Linked DNA regions of Homo sapiens: region 2 is linked to region 1. Evidence: promoter capture Hi-C in human tissues and cell types (Jung and others, 2019). All regions are on one chromosome and are shown on one strand. Each heading gives the region's core, a stretch centred on a gene start or on the middle of the fragment in contact. The rest is flanking DNA. Distances are from core to core; before and after follow the strand shown. Region 1 holds the start of OR56B4 (olfactory receptor family 56 subfamily B member 4). Region 2 overlaps FHIP1B (FHF complex subunit HOOK interacting protein 1B).

Region 1 (3,691 bases), core at 1,165-3,664:
CAGTTAGAATGGCTATTATCAAAAATATGAAAGTGCAAGCAAAGGTGCAGAGAAAGGGGAATGTTTGTACACTGTTGGTGGGATTGTAAAGTAGTACAGCCATTATGGAAAACAATATGGAGGTTCGTCAAAAAAACTAAAAAGAGAACTACCATATGGTACAGCAACTTCACTGCTGGGTTTATATCCAAAAGAAAGGAAATCAGTAAATAGAAGAGATATCTGCACTGTCATGTTTATTGCAGCACTATTCACAATAGCGAACATATGGAATCAACCTAAGTGTTCATGAATGGATGAATGGATAAAGAAAATATGAGATATATAGAGAGAGATATATATAGATACATACACACTATATATACACACACTGTATATAGTATAGAGAGTGTATATATATATCCAATGTGATACGCACACACACACACAGTGGCCTATTATTCAGCCACAAAAAGGAATAAAATCCTGTCATTTGCAGAAACATGAATGGAACTGGAGGTTATTGTGTTAAGTGAAATAAATCAAGTAGAGAAAGACAAATATTACATGTTCCTACACATGTTTGGGAGCTTAAAAAGTGGATCTCAGCTGGGCACGGTGGCTCACGCCTGTAATCCCAGCACTTTGGGAGGCCAAGGCAGGCAGATCACCTGAGGTCAGGAGTTTGAGACCAGCCTCGCCAACATGGTGAAACCCCATCTCTACTAAAAATACAAAAATTAGCCGGGTGTGGTGGCACACACCTGTAATCCCAGCTACTCGGGAGGCTGAGGCAGGAGAATCGCTTGAACCTGGGAGGTGGAGTTTGCAGTGAGCCGGAAAAAGAAAAAAAGTGGATCTCACAGAAGTAATGAATAGAATGGTGGTTACCAGAGGCCGGAAAGGGTGGGGGTAGGGGAAGAATAGAGGGTGGCTGATGGGGACAAAAATACAGTTAGGTGGAAGAAATAAGTTCTAGTATTCAATAGCACAGTAGGAAAATTATAGTTAATAATTTACTGTATGTTTCAAAATCGCTAAAAGAGAATTGCAATGTTCCTAACACAAAGAAAAGATAAATGCTTGAGGTGATGGATATCCTAATTACACTGATTCGATCATTACACATTGTATACATGTATCAAAATATCACATGTACCTCCAAAATATCTACAAATATGATATATCAATTCTAAAAATACAAAAAAAAATCATTAAACTATAGGGCATCTAGGTGGTAGAAAATAATGCAACTTAACTGCAGTATGGAAATATGGAGCAGTCTTCAAAATATTAAGTTAAAAAAGAAAAGGAAAGAAAAAAGGAGAAAGGTGTGCTAACAATTGATTATGTCTTTTATGAAAATTATATATATATATATATATATATATATATGTTTTTATCCATGCATAAACTATTAATGGAAGGATTCCCAAGAAACATATTACTGGCTGCCTCTAGTGAAAAGGAAAAAGATTTCAAAGCCCCAAGCATGAGAGTCTTACTTTTCATTGTTTATATTTTTCATTTTATTTTGATTTTTACCATGTATAGATAATATATCTTAAAATAAAATCAAAATTATATTTAAAATTTTAAGACTATTATATCCTTTGTATATATAATTTTTGCATCACTTTTGAAACTCTACTCAAGGAAAACAATATTAAAAGCAAAATACCTGTCAGTAAATTATAGAATAGCCAAATGCAAAAATTTAAAGCAGCAATTAAAATTAACATCACACTTTTTAAATAATATTGTGAAGTCTTTGGTTAATGTATTCATCCATGAAATAAAATTTTTGAGTGCTTATATTACATCTTAACACATACTGCTAAAAGACAAAAACAAGATACAAAATCATCTCTAGATAATGATGTAGACTGTTTAAAAATAAAATAGAAAATTGGAAATAAATCAAATACTAACATTTGTTATCTGTTAGTGATAAGACTGTTGTTAATATATGTGGACATGCTTATTAGACATACAAGTGGTGATGAAAAATAGTTATTCCAACTCTTCTGTTTAGAATTTTTTTGCTTTTTTTGTTATTCCTCTGTGGAATATTTCCAGAAGTCAAATAAAGTTGAGGGTCATTCATGAATAAAAGGAGCTGGTTCATTATTGAGGAGCTCTTACCAAGACACTTAACTTTTTGTTTTGTTTTGTTTTTTAAGACAGGGTCTCACTCTGTTGTCCAGGCTGGGGTGCAGTGGCACAATCTCGGCTCACGGCAACCTCCGCCTCCCAGGTTCAATGATTCTCATGCCTCAGCCTCCCAAGTAGCTGGGATTACAGACAGGCACCACCACACCCAGCTAATTTTTGTATTCTCCGCAGAGATGAGATTTTGCCATGTTAGCCAGGTCAGTCTCGAGCTCCTGACCTCAAATTATCTGCCTGTCTCAGCCTCCCAAAGTGCTGGGATTACAGGCATGAACCACGATGCTCAGCCCCTTAGCTGAACTTTTAAACAGAGATTTCTTCTATTTCAGACAGACACTGAGACTGAGGCACCCATTCCATGGATACCTCCACCAGTGTTACCTATGACTCCAGCCTCCAGATTTCCCAGTTCATCCTGATGGGATTACCAGGCATTCATGAGTGGCAGCACTGGCTCTCCCTGCCCCTGACTCTGCTCTACCTCTTAGCTCTTGGTGCCAATCTCCTCATCATAATCACCATTCAACATGAGACCGTGCTACATGAACCCATGTACCATTTGCTGGGCATATTAGCAGTGGTGGACATTGGCCTGGCCACCACCATCATGCCCAAGATCCTGGCCATCTTCTGGTTTGATGCCAAGGCCATTAGCCTCCCCATGTGTTTTGCTCAGATCTATGCCATCCACTGCTTCTTCTGCATAGAGTCAGGCATCTTTCTCTGCATGGCAGTAGACAGATACATAGCCATCTGTCGCCCTCTTCAGTACCCCTCCATAGTCACTAAAGCTTTTGTCTTCAAAGCCACAGGGTTCATCATGCTCAGGAATGGCCTGTTGACCATCCCAGTGCCTATACTGGCTGCCCAGAGACACTACTGTTCCAGGAATGAAATCGAGCACTGCCTCTGCTCTAACTTGGGGGTTATCAGCCTGGCTTGTGATGACATCACTGTGAACAAATTTTACCAACTGATGCTAGCATGGGTCTTGGTTGGGAGTGATATGGCTCTGGTATTTTCTTCCTATGCTGTAATCCTTCACTCTGTGCTGAGGCTGAACTCAGCAGAAGCAATGTCCAAGGCTCTGAGCACTTGTAGCTCCCACCTCATCCTCATCCTCTTCCACACAGGTATCATTGTGCTGTCTGTCACACACCTTGCAGAGAAAAAGATTCCCCTTATTCCTGTGTTCCTTAATGTGCTGCACAATGTCATCCCCCCTGCACTCAACCCCCTGGCCTGTGCACTCAGGATGCACAAACTCAGACTGGGCTTTCAGAGACTGCTTGGACTGGGTCAGGACGTGTCCAAGTAACTCCAGCTTTAGGAATCCAGTAAGATGTTAGGAAATGACAGAGGTTTTAGTTCTCAATAGATCAGGGTTATAATCTGCACTTACCACACTCCCTAGGAAAAAAATGGCCAATAAAATCATGAAAACTGTCAGCCTCACTAATCAAAATATGTATATTAAAATTACAAGAAAATTTCCTATTACCTGGAAAATAAGTAAGAACAAAAAAGTGAAATGTTTCTA
Region 2 (3,552 bases), core at 373-2,872, 110 kb after region 1:
AGCCAAAGAATCAAGCTTGAAAGGACCACAGTGGAAAGGAAAGCATCTACATGTTTAACACGGGCATCCTGAAATTAGAAGAGATCTGTTCCTCCAAGAACCAGGAACCAAGAAGAAACATCCCAAGAACATGTAAGGCTCCTAAGACCAGGGGACCAAATGGGAGACTAATAGAAACAACTACTAAAAAAATGAAAGATAGTGAGTAAGAATCAAAGTTAGGATAAGACAAAAGGAAGAAACAACAGATAAAACCTCAAAAAGAAAATCAACTGTCTCTAAACATGAACAGGACAATATGAGGCCAATCATGGCCTAATTTCAGCATAATGAGGGAAAAAAAATACTTTTGGTATCTTTGTAAAATTAAAGCTTTAATACCTATTCCCTATTGGTTCCAATAAATCTTAACCCAAGGCATCTATCATGATTACTTTTTGGAAAATTTTAAAAATACACATGTCCTGAGCCTACTCCCAAAGATTCACGAAATCTGAGGTAGAGCTCAGAATCTGTTGTAGTTGTTAGTTGTCATCTTCAAAGATTCACAGACGTTTCTAAAGTATACACTTGGTTTAGAAACACTGGTTTAATCAGTCAGTCTGGAATATTTCTTATACACCCTAACTTAGCTTCAGAAACTGCACCTATACAAAACACAGCTATCCAGGAAACTGACCTGGAACTCTACTATCTAGTATCTCATTATCTAGAAGTTTTCCAGAGCTCTTAGTGATGAAAGAACTTCTATTTTAAACACATGGATCCAGGAAACTTTAACTTATAATAAAAAAAGGAAGCAAAAATGGTCCCAGAGGCAAAATAAATGCCATGAAGTCCATGGCAAAATTAATGCTTTATTCTCCTAGAGGGGCTTAAGTCTTTATAACTTGGAAACCACCCACTCCCATGTTATATATATTTCTATTTGTTAATATCCAAACTTCTTGCCATGGTCTTCCAGGTCATGCATGATCTGAATTTTACCCCTCTATTTTTATCTCATTCCCTTCTTCCCCTTGCTCACTACACCTCTAGTCTTTCATTTCCTCAAACATGTTAAGCTCTTCCCCCATTTGATGTCCTTTGCATGCTGTTCCCCTTGCTTTCCTGTTCTTCTACTTGATCAATAAGTTAACTCCTTTATAATCTCTATGTCTCAGTTCAATGTCATCTCTTCAGAGAGGTCTTCCTTGGCCACCCTATTATTTCTAAGCACTCTAGTTTTTTCATAACCCTGACCACAACTTATTAATGTGTTTGCTTGTCTGTCTTCTCTACAAAGTAAGCTCCATGAAGTCAGCAACAATGTCTACCTTATTTATCACTGTATCCCCAGCACCAGCAAACAGTATGGCACACAGTGAACATTCAGTAAAAATGTTTAGGAGGAAGGACCGAAAGTAGATAGGTGGGTGGATGAGTGCTCCAAGCTATAGTTCAAAAGCAGCAAATCCAAAGGAGAAAGAAGGCAAGCATATCAGTAGCACCTGGATCACCTACCAAAGCAGACACACAACCTAAAGTGCTCTCAAGTCACCCAAAGCAGGCCACAGAGTGATAAACAGTTTAAGAGAACTCAGGCCAATACTACATTACGAACACTGCACAGTAGCAAAACCTATAGTCATGATGAACAGCCAAAGTCATCCAGAAAAGGTGACTGTGTTCTAGATTCATCTATCATAAAAGCAGGGGAGTAGATTAAAATCTGTACCCAAAATGGTTAAAAGTTTAATGCTGGAAAGTTAATGCCACTTAATTTTGAGGTGACTGCTGGAGATACAGGCAAAAGAAGGGCAGGAATACCCTCCCAGAACAAAGGTCAGAGAAAGAAGATGGGTCATCCAGGTAAGCTAGGACAGGGGTAAGGGCCATACCCGGGAGTTACTGCCAATACGAGCAACGAGGGTGTCGAGGATGGTGTGGGTGTCATGCCGGTGCAACAACAGGAATCGCAGGAAGGTACGGAGCAAAGCAGGCTCTGAGATACTCCGTAGGAAAAGTTCCAGATAGGCGGTACTGGCGATCATCTCCTCCACAGAGGTCTGCACAAAAAGAAGGGAAAGTCTGGAAATGCACAGCTTCCCTGCACATACAGGGCCATTTTCCCTGGATTCTAAGAGAAATCAGGAGCAGACAGGGCAAAAGGGAGGAGTACTCTACCCACCGCCTCCTACGTTAGTCCTGTCACTGAGGTTACCACTGCAGCTTAGCCCCTTATATGCCTTGCCACCCATGACTCTCACCTTGTGCAAGGCAGGACCCATGACAGGCACCAGGAACCCATTATGGATATAATCAACCAACTGCTTCTGCACCAGGGGGTGAGCCACCTGTAGGAGTGCCAGAGAGAAGGGGGAGGGTTATGAGGAGACCACTGCCTGGAAGGGAGTAGAATAGTACACTACAGAGAGGCATCCTACTTCCAAGATGGAAAAATGACAGAACTCCAGGGAATATACCCCCTCCTACCTAATCTCCCAAAAATGACCAAGGGCCAGACTTTCAGTCCTACCTGAATTACTGCATTGCAGAACTCCAGGGAACTCATGAAGAGTGCAAGGGCTGGCACTCCCAGCCAGTCTTCCCGTCGCAGACAGTGCCAATCATCCCCTGGAACCTCAATCTTTCGAGGCAGTGATGAGTACAGGGCACTGAGCCCTGTGGCCAGCACCTATGAGAAGTTACCAAAAGCTCATATATAAAATACATTTATAAAATATAAAAACTGGAACAGGGGAGCTAGTAATCCAGAGTTTTGATGGGAATAGGGGTATAAGCTATTACCAAAGCAAGCATTTGCCTACCCAATGTGCCTGAAACTCACCTAGAATTCACAGGCCTACAAAGAGACTTAGTATCTGCCCTATCCATCTAAGCCCATGATTCATCCCCACTACAACTCCAGGGGGCTGCTTTCAAATCCAGGAACTGTTTCCTAGGGGAACGGGCCCTGGAACATAGCCTCTCCCCATCTCCTGGATAGGAAGGTGCTGTTCAGTATCTACACACCACACCCTACCCTCCAAGCCAGGGGGTGCTAACCGGGCAGAAGTAAGAGTGATCCGCGATGTAGCGGCCCACAGTGGGGCTCCCAGCTGACAAAGCCATGAGAAGAAGTAGGGCATCACGGGCCTGCTGGCCCAGGGTGCCCTCTCGATGCACAAAAGGGACAAGGCGAGAAAAGAGAAGAAGACGGGGAGCGGCTCCAGGCTCAGGAGGTGGCTGCAGGAAGAACTCGAGCAATGAAGGCTCCTGGGCCACACAAACACACAGCTGGCTGAGAAGTAGCACCAAGCCTTCATCCAGTGCTGGGCTACTGGGCACAGGGCGGCCACAGGCATCCAGCAGGGTGAGCAGAGCCTCACGAACTGGACCATGCCGCAACAGTGGCTGGCGAGCTTCGCTCACTAGCATTTCAAATAGTTTCAGTTGCTCAGCCCGCCGTTCCTCGACCCCATCCCCAAGCTCATCCCATTGCAGCTGCCATGTCAACACACGGGTCAGCAGATCCTCGTGCAGAGCAAACTCCAGCAGGGGCCCAGGGCC

Evidence for each region. Contacts are between HindIII fragments. The study calls those that stand out against the background at their distance.
Region 2: a fragment that was not itself captured here is called in contact with the fragment with the promoter of OR56B4 in region 1 in 3 of the 25 tissues and cell types used here (bladder, neural progenitor cells and thymus).

What each region holds. Positions count from the first base shown.
Region 1 is chr11:6,105,270-6,108,960 of GRCh38, forward strand. It overlaps OR56B4 (olfactory receptor family 56 subfamily B member 4), which reads left to right and starts at 2,415. Exons shown (of 1, transcript NM_001005181.2): 1 at 2,415-3,566. The coding sequence starts at 2,510. The coding sequence ends at 3,469. All of the region lies in intron 2 of LOC124902622 (a long non-coding RNA gene), which reads right to left. The HindIII fragment of the contact is 6,854 bases long and covers 1-3,691 here.
Region 2 is chr11:6,220,562-6,224,113 of GRCh38, forward strand. FHIP1B (FHF complex subunit HOOK interacting protein 1B) reads right to left here. Exons shown (of 12, transcript NM_001098794.2): 3 at 3,049-3,552; 4 at 2,519-2,677; 5 at 2,250-2,336; 6 at 1,881-2,048. Among named protein-coding and RNA genes, the nearest start is that of FHIP1B, 12 kb to the right of the region's middle. The HindIII fragment of the contact is 7,709 bases long and covers 1-3,552 here.